Linked DNA regions of Homo sapiens: region 2 is linked to region 1. The links are contacts of gene promoters, found by promoter capture Hi-C in human tissues and cell types (Jung and others, 2019). All regions are on one chromosome and are shown on one strand. Each heading gives the region's core, a stretch centred on a gene start or on the middle of the fragment in contact. The rest is flanking DNA. Distances are from core to core; before and after follow the strand shown.

What was found. The method cuts DNA at HindIII sites, captures the fragments that hold promoters and counts their contacts. A contact is called where the count stands out against the background at its distance.
Region 2: a contact is called between a fragment that was not itself captured here and the fragment with the promoter of DOCK3 in region 1, in 1 of the 25 tissues and cell types used here (spleen).

What each region holds. Positions count from the first base shown.
Region 1 is chr3:50,671,572-50,677,184 of GRCh38, reverse strand. It overlaps DOCK3 (dedicator of cytokinesis 3), which reads right to left and starts at 2,258. Exons shown (of 53, transcript NM_004947.5): 1 at 1,885-2,258. The coding sequence starts at 1,921. MIR4787 (microRNA 4787) reads right to left here and starts at 2,105; the gene lies at 2,022-2,105. LINC02019 (long intergenic non-protein coding RNA 2019) reads right to left here. Exons shown (of 2, transcript NR_183733.1): 2 at 5,134-5,613. RefSeq lists a silencer at 2,005-2,294. The HindIII fragment of the contact is 18,901 bases long and covers 1-5,613 here.
Region 2 is chr3:51,336,679-51,342,291 of GRCh38, reverse strand. It overlaps DOCK3 (dedicator of cytokinesis 3), which reads right to left. Exons shown (of 53, transcript NM_004947.5): 36 at 3,873-3,933; 37 at 3,264-3,357; 38 at 907-1,055. Among named protein-coding and RNA genes, the nearest start is that of MANF, 46 kb to the left of the region's middle. RefSeq lists an enhancer at 1,539-2,423. The HindIII fragment of the contact is 3,312 bases long and covers 1,764-5,075 here.

The sequences.
Region 1 (5,613 bases), core at 1,009-3,508:
AAATGTCTTCAGTGTAACTGTCTCTCTCATTTAGCAAGCATTAAGCTCTGCCCTGAGCCCAATGCTGTGGCCCTCCAAAGGGAATAACAATTTTTCTAAAGCTAAAAACACAATCCTAGGAATGCAAGAATTTCGTTGCATCTTGCTGGGAAAATCACACACCAAATCCTAGTGCTTTGAGATTCACATGTACCTATCTTGATTACCTTGCACTGGCTCTGTCTCAGAACACACTTAGTGTTATTAGTCTAAATACTAAGGGAAAAGAAGAAACTATTAAGCATTCAGCACGTTCTCATTTCACTTTCACAATCCTGTAAGATAGGTAAACATTATCCCCAATTTATACATTAATAAAATGACGTTAAATGATGTTAAATTACTTGCCCACACCACCAGTAAAGAGAAGCTAGGACTCTGAATTCCACTTTGTCCACTATTCAAGGGCTCCTCCCCCCACGCCCCCACCCCCGCCAAAATAGGGCTCCTCCCCCCTCCAAAAAAATCAATCATGGGGTGCCACTGGAGAGTTGACCACTCACATCAATTATTTGTTATTCTAGTTCAGCAGTTCTGGGAGCGAGTTATGGAGAAGATAAACCACCAACTCCTCACTTCACAGAATCAACTCAGTATTCAGGGAATACTCTAAGAGAAGGGGTAAAATGTCCCTAGAGGTGAATCCCAGCTCTTCGCATCATTTCTCAATTCCTTCTCAATAGAGACTCTAGGACCAGAGCTCCCTTTATCACCTCCATCCTAACATACCTAATTGTTTCAGAAAGTTACCTTTTAAAACAAGATCTTCTACCAGAATAGAAGACCTCTCTGCTGGTCCTCGAATTTAAATAAATTCAATTTTCACACGATAACCTGCCTGATAGCATTCCAAAACATTCGTTACCACTGCAGTTTCAAGTTATTTTGTAGTGAATTGTGAACTAAATCTTGATTAAATTGCGGTAAAGATGGGAAACAAAAATCTATGTTTAGACAGGTTTCCTATCTAAAATTTTCCATTACGAGCTTAGGAAAAACAAAACCTGTACACTCAACATTTTAAATCTGTTTCTAACTGAACAAGATGATAGGTGATGCAATGAGGCTTAACTCTATCATGTAATTGCCACAAAACACTAACATTGTAAAACATTCAATACTTTAAATTACTGAATATTCTTTTTAAAGAAGTTGAATATTGTAAGAATTATTTAGCTTCTGGAGTTTAACACTTACAACATTAAAAAAAGGTTTCTAAGAGGAATAAGGTCTCATCTGAAAACAGGGTTTAAAAAAAAAACCGTATAAACATTGATACATGTCCAAAAACATTTCCCATCGTAAGGTATTATTTCTAATACTAAAGGCAAAACAAATTAAAACAGATCAAACATTTGCAGTCAAATGTCCAAATTTTTGAACTGGGAAAATGATGTCAACGTTTTTCATCCGTTTTCTTGTAAGGTTCCAGATCAAAAATAAACAGCCATCGGGCTCATCAATTCAGGTGCGGAAACTCATTAAAATCGAGCTTTTGGAGGGGAGAAAACATATTCCCAGAATTTGGTTTATCGGGTAAAATTGCCCCGTGGCCCACACCAGAAACCTCGGGCAACTGCCCGGGCCTTGCCCACCCCTCCCGCGGGCCGCACCTGCCAAGGCCGCACCGCCAGCGCCCCCTGCCGCCCTCTCTGCACAGAGACCCGCGCCCACCCCCGCACCCGCACCCGCACCCGCACCTGCCCCCACCCCGCGCTCGCCCCGCGCCGAGGCCGCGCAGCCTGCGGGCAGTGGCGGGGGCACGAGGATGCGAATCCAGGCGGGGCCGGGAGCTGGGCGCGTCCCCCAGAACCCCCGCCACGGCCAGGCCTGAGCCTCACCTACCTACGCCGTATTTCTCCTCCTCCGTGGGGGTCCACATGGCCGTGCCGGGCGCGGCCCCGCGGGCGCGGCGACCGGGCGACAACGCGGCGGGGACGGCCGCGGGCCCGGCTGTGGCGCACCGCGAGTCGAGGCGGGGACGGTCAGGCGGCGCGGGGCAGTGGGCGGCGCATCCCTCACAGGCCGTCCGGGATGCCGCCGCCACCCCCGCCACGTCTGGACCGCGAGGCTCCGCGGGTGGCCCAGCAGCCCCTGGCGGCGCGGGCGAAGGCTCGCCACCTGTCCGTCGCCGCTGCTCCCGTGCCGCCGCTTGCTTCTTCACAGCTCCGCCGCCCGGCTCCCGGCGCCGCCGCGGCTCGGCTCGCCCCAGCGGGCTCGCAGGACGCCCGCGCATGCGCCACTCCCTGCCGCGCAGGGGCTCGCGCTGCCCGGGCTCGCGCCGTCCCGAGCCCGCGCGCGAATCCACGCGCCGCTGCTGCGCGCCAGCGGAGGGAAATCCGCGAGAAGCTATTGGACTGCCCGGCCCCGGACCGGCTTCTAGAATCGCTGGTCCGGGGCCCTCAGCTGCAGCAAACCCCGGAGGGGGCGAAGCCGGTCAGGTGGGCGACTCCCTCTACCCGGACTCCCCACTCGCTTCCGCTTCCAGTGCCTCCTGCCTGCGCCCCGAGATGGCCACAGGCCTCCTGGTCGGAGAGGGGAGATCCAGAAAAGGAGGACACGACACCATTTTCAGACCCATCCCAGTGTCACCCACAGTGCTGTCGGAAAGGTCCCCGGAGCCACCCTGTGCATTCCCAGGGCCCGCAGGATGGAGTCGCCACGAGGGAACCAGGTGGGGTGCACTCGTGCCCCTCTCTCCTGGATCCCCTGTGGGCTGAGGCCGCTGACACCTCCTGGGTTCTTGCTTCTCTGAGATGGCCTGAGTGGTGAATGTTTGGGGCCAGAACAATCAACAGCCGCCTTGCTAGTAAGGAAGAGCTTCATTGGGCCCTTCGTGTTCCTACCCAGGACACGGCATCTGCTGCTCCTGGGTGTCTGCCTCCCTTGGAGCCCTAAGAACTGGCTCCTACCGGAAACTTTCCTCCTCTCTCTCCTCCCTAAGAATCCATTCATTCTGATGCCTGTAAATGTCACCTTGTGACCCCCAAGTCAACCACTTACCAAAGAACAGGAACTGCAGGACTTCTCCTTTCCACCTACATTTGGACCACATGCTCTAATCCCAGCAGATTTGCCCATCTCTGTCACTAGCACTACTAAGTCAAAACCCTGGTGTCATCCTTCACTAGCACTCTCAGACACCACCACTCTTCAAAGCCCAGCTCAGCCCCTCACCTCCAGGAAGCCTGCCCTGACCCATAGTCTCCTTTCCTTCTTTGTCTGGAATTGGAGCTATGTTCGGTTTGTCTTATTTCCCTTATAAGACTGTCAGCTCCCAGAAGGCAAGCTCCAGGCTAAAATCAACTTTCTAAACCCTCACCACCAACCCAGCACCTGTTGTATAGTTGTTGCATGGGAAGCCAGACTAATAGAAGAATATCTTGCAATCAACAGATCTTGTTGATTCTTCGTTCAAAGTGTCATGATTGGTAACTCCTCCCAGGCCTGACTGTGCTCCCCTGGGTTATGGCCACCCCTTCCCACCTTCGGACCTTTAGGCTCCTCCTCTCACTAATCATAGCTGCCCACTCCCGCCCAGAAAAATGTCTGTTCTGTGAATGATAGAATTTCTCAATAGCCAGGTACACTTCTTTTTAGGGGTAGCAGGGGTGTCCAAGAACATAACGAAAGAGCTAACTGTTCCAAGAAGATAGACCCCTCCCCGGTGGCCACCATGGAAGTATTCTATGGAATGAAGCCACATTCTTACAAAACTCTCCAGGTAGCTATTCAACAAGTGGGGCTGAGCTACGCAGGCCTTCAGGGAACAACCTTAAAGCTCTTATTTCATCCTCTAAGTTCACTCCCTTGTCTGCTGTATGTGATGACAGTCACAGAGCCTAAGGGCCAGTTTTTCCAAAGTTTATACTCTTGTTCCCAGTCTGAATCCATCTTAGATTATGGCTTTCCCAGATGAAGAAAATTCTCCATGATTGCACACCTCAGCTCCAGGGTGGAAGGGCATTAAACCCAACCAGGGAAGGGAAAAGAAGGGACCAAAGTGAGAAGGAAGGGACTTAGTAAGCCTGGACTCCTACACTCTTGCTGTTTGTATAAATTTAGATTGTTTTTGTGAGTTGAAGCAAAAGGGCATAGCACACATTGGCCTTCAGCAGGACCATGCACCTGCTCTCTTATCCCCCTAGCATCTGCTCTGATCCTTTCCTTCCTCAGGCTCCCAGTCCACTCAACACACCACACACACACTCTCTCAGCATATGAGCTGCCTTCCAGCTTGCCTCTGAAAATCGAGACCCTCAGCACAGTAACCTCCCCTCCTCTCCAACTGCTCTTCTTTGTGTTCTCGCCACCACCAGGCTCACTGCCTGCTACTTCTCAGGATCCCCAACTATCATTGCCCTGTCTCCCATTTTCACCCTGACCTGCTCCACAGACTCCTGCGGTCCCAGGAAGACCTGCCCTGTTGGTACCCTCATCCCCCCATTCCCTCTCTCTTCCTCCTCTCTCCATCTGACTACAGAGGAGAATCATCCATTCCAAATCCTTTTATTTCAATGTAATTCATTTGATTCTCACCACCTGAAGGTCTGCGTTCTGACCCTGTCACCTCCTGGAAACTACTTTCCCAGAATTCCCCAGGGCCATCCCAACTTCAGACCATTGCCTTGTTCTGGCTGGGTTTTTGCATAGAGTGTCCCTCAGCTTGTGTCCTCTACTCTTGAAACCCACACATCTGCATCATGCTTCAAGAGCTGTCTCAGGGCCACTTTCCTGAAGAAGGCTTCCCCAACTGCCCTCAGTTCAGCTGGATTTTTTGCACCCATTATGACCTTTTCTGTAGCACTTACTCATTCCACCCTTCTCCAAGAGATCAAATGGGTCTGCTTCTCACATTGGCAAACATCTGTTTTTTTCTTCAGTGACAAGGATTGTTCTTCAATTATTTTTACCTTACACAGAGACTAACATAGTGCCTACCACCTAACATGAATTTAACATACACTCTTGGGTGAATAATCTCCCTGTACGTTTTCTGAGACCATAATGAAATAGGTTGGAAGAGAGAACTGAGATGTTTACCTCAGCAAGTCACAAATCGGCAAACTCAGAAACTCTAATTAATTAAATTTCTTTGTTATAGACATATTGGTTTTAATTAAAAATTCATTGCAATGTCTTATTGAGTAGCTATAAAAAAGATAAACATGATAGAGCAATTTAAAAAACAAAGTATGCAAACAGTTTCACTTATCATGTCACTGTTACTTTTGGGTTTAACTCATTACCTTAGATGATAAATTGCAACTCGATGAGCAAGGAAGGAATCAAGTTTTCTGCAGGAAATTCGTTAAGACTGGTGGCTGTTAAAAATAGCCGATACCCAAACAAATTTTATAAATAATTTACAAGAAATGCAGACAGCATCATCTTTTTCTCTTAGAGTTTAAGTTGATCAATAATTTTTTATCACAAGCAAACTCCATAATGGTAAATCCCCCATCACCTTTGGTGAATGATACTGGCCCTCTACAAAGCTCGATGAGATACACTTCATATCTTCTCTCCTTGTTTTCTGCTGCCTAGAGAATCACACAGCAGCATTTAAGGAGC
Region 2 (5,613 bases), core at 2,170-4,669, 660 kb before region 1:
TATGGGGAAATGTTTTCTGAGTGAATATTTTTGACAAACATAGAAGTCCCCCATGTTATGTAAAACTGAAGAATGTTTTCTGATTTATAGACAAAAGCCATTAATGTTTAAATCTTTCTTTTTGATGAAAAAACTCATCTCAAAAACCAATTTCCATTTGAGTTGGGGGCTCAGCTACTACAGTTCCATGAATGACCCTATTTCAGCTTTAAAATGTGCTCAAAGCTTAGTAATGAGAAAATGGCTTCAACAAGTTTTTCCAGCACAAGGGCCCCATCTAACAGTAGGTAGTCAGAGGGCGCCACACAGAGCTCTCCCAGAGATGGGAGGAGAATGGCTGGGAAGTCCCAAGGAAGCCTAAACCAGTGCTGACAATGCTGCCAATCCCATAGAAAGTAGTTTGATGGAAAATAACCCCAATATGAGAGGAGCCCAGGCTGTGCTGTAGAGAAGGGAAATCTAAGAAAAGAACACATACCAGTAAGAGGCAGTTTAGGCCGCCTTTGGCTGTGGTTAAAATCCATTCATTTCTACCACTCATATTTTATATGGCAGCAGATTAGAAAGCCGTATCAGTTCTTTAAGTAAATCCAATAAAAACAAACAGGGTTCCAGAAGCCCCTGCTGTAGAAGCATTCATATTTATAGATATGCAAAGCTAGTATGTAGGGTAGTCTCTAACACCTACAATCTGGATATGGCTTTCAAGCCACAGAATTAGGCTGTTGTCTTTTTCTCCCTCAGAGAAAATCATGCTGCCTCCACATCTTAGGCACATAGATAGGCACCCACCCACTCACCACCCCACACACTACCCCCTGCAGCTGCTGTTAACCCTATGGTGTCAAGATGCCATGCATCACAGCAGAAGCTGAAGGGCTAAAGGGCTTGCCTAATGATGCATACCTTGCCTTTGTTGAAGTAGTGAATGATCTTCCGGCACAGTCCCTCCTTCCGCTGCCACTCTGTCTGCGATGGGTAGTGGAGGAATTCCCGTAGTGGCCGGTCCTCCCACTGCAGCAGCTCACAGTAAAGGAGCAGGGTAAATGCGGCCTCTGTGGGGACAGACAGCATGGAGGTCCAGGGGCTTCCCTTGCTCAGAGGCCCAGGAGCAGCCTGGTGTCAGAGGACTATGCTGGGCAGAATGCCAGCGCAAGTCATGTGCAGCCCAGGTCGGGGACACTGGATACTAAAGATGAAACAGTAGGGCTGCTCAACAAGCCAATAACCCTTGTCCACAGCATGAAGGAGCCAAATATTCTGGTAGACACCTTCCTTCCATGGCCTGGTCACCTGTTCCAGCCTCCAGATTAATAAAGAATGGTTCAGCTACCCAAAAATCTGTGCACAGGCTGCCTTGCTTTGGGAGACATTGACACATCAGAGAGAGCTCTTGGGTTCCTTTTTGCTCAACTGACTACAGCTTCCTTTCCAACCTTCTCAGAACTGGCTCTTAGGGCTCCATTACCAAAGGAACCTAAATTGATACTAGACCCAGAGTGAAGGCCTGGCAACATCTTACTCTATGTGTGGAACAATTAGAGAAGGTTATGTAAAACAACAGCAGTGAAATACCATGGCTCCCTACATTCCAAGGGATGAGTCATACTGAATCACAGCCACGGCTCAGGGGCCTCATTACACAGTTTTCTCTCTGTTCTATTTGTTCATTTTTAGTGGGCATCTCCTACTGGCAAGTTAGTTAGTTCTAGCTTCTGTGCTTCTGCCTGGCTTTCAAGGCCCTACTCAAATCTACTCCCCATGACTATGAAGAATCTCATTTCTAACCATTTATTGACCCACTTCCAGTTTTAGCTAGGCCCACTTGCCTGTGTCCACTCTTTAGGCTCCTCCTCATCCTTGCCTTTTTGCCTGTGCCCTTGCCACTGGAACTTCCTGCCAAGGAATGTACACGCCTCCTCATGGGATCAGGAAGCCTTTTCTCTCTAGGGACAAGCCCTGTGGAACTCAGGGCCTCCCTCTGGAGCTTAGGAAACCATGGAACGTCTTTTTCTTCCTTGCCTATATTCTTTTCAGATGTCATTCCCTGAGCCATCAGAGACAAGGCTTAGCACTCTTTCTCTGTTAAAATCCCTGACCCAGCCTCTCAGTCATGGCCCCGTTTCCTAGGAGTTTAGCAAATGCTTCTACTGATACATAACATTTATCAAAGTCTTTCTCTTCAATGCCCTCTCAGAGGGTTGCTGGGATCATGGGTGCAAGTGGATGCAGAGAATGGTAGACTCAGCCCAGTCATTTTATTTTATTAGTCAGCTGAATTTAAGATTCAAAGCCCAGTCATTTTAGATTTAATTCTTGCCAAGCTATGCTATCAGATAAGATACCATCTATGCCAAACACTCTCTAACGGCTAGAGATAAAGAAGGAGGATTCTCTGTTTCTACAAATCTATCTAATTGCAGTAGCGTTTGCAGACAAGGATAGCTTAAATTTCCTGATCTATCACACAAATTCAAGTCCTATCGCCTAAGAGCTAAGACATAATGGCTGGTCACCACAGTGGAGAAAATGGCTCTTTGGGGGGAACGATGGCATAAGTCAATCAGATAGGACACACATGCATGCACGTAACCCCGATTCAGCGTGGTTCTCAGTAAACAGATGTGACAGCCACTTTGAAATGCTTTAAAATTTGTTCTAGTTAGAAAAGGCCTTGATATTGGATTAAATTGTAGATACAATGAAAGGAGCCCTATCTGGCCTGTCAAGAAGTCAGATGAACATTCTTTATACTCTACACTGAGTGCACAATGTGAGGCTGCTATGCAGTTGCAGGGTCTGAAGAGCCTAGCCTGCAAGGAAGGTCTGCTAGTGAGTTCTGGAAGTTCCAGGGTTAGGGGGATATTCCTTTGTTATAACCTTAGCTCCAGCTTTGAAAGTCCTAAAAAAGGCTCTCTGTTCATAAGGAGTGACAGTGAGCTCAGGATGCTCTGAACCTGGTGCACCAGAATTTGGAGGTCACCCTTGAGACTTCAGAGGGGTGGATAGGAGGGAAGAAGAGTGAAACAGACTCAAGTAGTGGATGACATGGCACAAAGGCACAAGTGGAAGTTCTGCCTGCTTTCTCTCTACCATGTGCCACAAAGGAGTTGAGGGAAATGAGTGAGGTGAGGGGATAGCACAAGCCCCAACATTCTGCTGAGATCTGGCAGGCACCAGCCTGAAGCCTTTCTCTGCCTATTGTACAAATCCCTTCAGTTTGTCCTCATGGTCAGGCATGGCTCTCTCTTCTCCCCACTTACCTGTGTAGTTTTCGGCCTGCAAGTGCATGTCACAAAGCTTATGGATGTAGCGGATATACATTTCTTCCTTGTTAATCTCAGATTTGTAAAAATTCTACAATAAAGAGAAGGAAACACCTGTCAACTACCTGTGGAAGCCATAGCCAAGCTCTGGGCAGCTGGCCATAGCCGTGGGTGTGCTGGGCAGGAGGGGGAGGGCAGGCCCTGGAGGCAGACAGCACCAGAAGGAGAAAGCACCAGCCAGAAGGAACACCTGCTGTGGGTGGAACCACTGGCAGGTCTATGGGAGCCCTGGGTAGTGTTAAGAGGAAAAGCATCAGGGCAGATCAGGAGTCAGGGTTGACTGTGAATTGGGTATGTCAGGGTTAGTGGGTCCTTGCCAAGAGGCCAGGCTAGAGTTCTATCCAAAGAGAAGCTCGTTTCATTCCTTCCCCAAGTAGGAATGTGTTTGGGGGAGTGCAGGCCTCTAAGATACCAGTAACAGAGCTGATGTCCTGATTCAAACCCTTAGGCCTGCAGCCATGTATTGTAGAAGGGCCAAGCCAATCACAGTGCAGGACAGAAACCATTTCAGTAGGCAGAGAGAAGTCAGGGCCCATGTCCTCTCACCATCAGGTTAACAGTGCAGCCTATCTTCTTATTCTCTGTTTCCTCTCCTTTCATGCAGTCCCTGGAAGAGAGAGCACAGATGAGCACCAGATATGAAGTGGGGCCTTGAGACAACACATAGAACTGTACTATCACTGGGGCATTAGTATGACCAAATCCCAGATTGAGATGGCCTCCAACAGGAACTGCTTCCATAGATAAGGACTCTACTGTGAGCTCCTTTAGCTTTGGAACCACTCTCAGGGCTCAAAGATCTCTGTTCAACTGAGCCCCTTATTCTGGTGGCAGAGCACAGAGAGAGCCCAGAGCTACATCAGGGTATTAAGTGGCACCTACCAATGTCCTTGGCACAAAAGGGTATATGAATTAAGTGGAAGGCCAAATCCTCAACTTCCCAAAAAGGGAGGCACAGAATTCTCCTTAAAGGGCAGGTTTCATTTTGTAGGAGTGCTGAATAGAAGCCAAGACCCTCCACTTCAGGGCCCTAGCTTCAGGGCTCTGTACATGTTCACCACCTAGTTGACATTTCTCCCTATGGTTTCCTTCCTGTGTACTAGTGTTTGGAGCCATCTATCACCAGAAGCAGCAGGTCTCGTGCTTAAAGCATCAGCCAGGACTGAGCTGCATTCATACCTAGCAGGGTCTGGGTGTAGGAGGGGTCAGGGATGGCCTGTGAGAGATAGGAAAATAGGAACACTGAGAATGGATCTTTTCCAAGATAGGGAGAGGGTTGGTCAAAGCCAAGCTCCTCTGGAAAGGAGCAGAAGCCTGGCACAAGGAGATGAAGGAGAATGAGAACCAGACTGGTGAATCCAGCAAGACATCTCCTATGCCAGCCAGAGTGCCATCTGCCTGATGTGTCTCCTTCCATAGCAGCCCACACTGCTATGGAGAAGATCTAGTTTCTTGTGCAGCTGTGTATTAGCAGCTCTGGGGAAAAGCTGCAGAAAGGGGTTTATACAGATTTCTAGGGTCAGGTTGGAGAGTGTCTTTGGCTTTGCTCCACTGGCAGGCACAGGGCCCAGTGAAGAGCAGTACAGCTGGGAGTCAGGGTCCCTAGGCCAAGTCACTGAGCCTCTGGATGGTCATTTGACAAACCCAGTTCTCCCCACCTTCCCATCATGCAGAGGAAGAACCTTGGGATGACTTCTTTGAAAGAAAAGGATGTTGAAAATCCATACTCCTCTCATGATATTCTGCAAAGCCAAATGTCCTTCCTGTGGAAGTCTCCTGTCAGAGTTGATAGGTTTGAGAGGTTTGGAACCAAGGCCCTCCTTTCTAGGGGGGTTTGACCTATCAGCACATTCACCACGTAAGATATTTGGTTCCTATGTAGCCAGACATGAGGGTCCTGAACATCCCTCTGCAGAACCTGTCCCTTTAGCGCTAGCAGAGCCAGGAAACTGCTTGACTTTTCGAGGAGTGAGGCTGAGGTCAGATGGCCAAGTTGTTCCAAGCAACCCACACAATGGTAGAAGGCATCTGTCTCCCCAGTAAGTTGGCCCCATGAAGGGCAGTGAGATTTTACCTAGCCACTTTGGCATTTAGTGATTTGTATTTTCTATAAAGCATCTGAAACATTTACCACGGATTAACTTCTATTTGGCCATAACCAGAACTTCATAGCTAAGTCCCTTAAACAGAAAGGAACTGGCCTCAACACTGTGATACCAGGGGCATCCTACACACTTCTGTGCTCTATGACTGCTTCTCCTCTGCACTGCTGACAGCAGACTCTTTT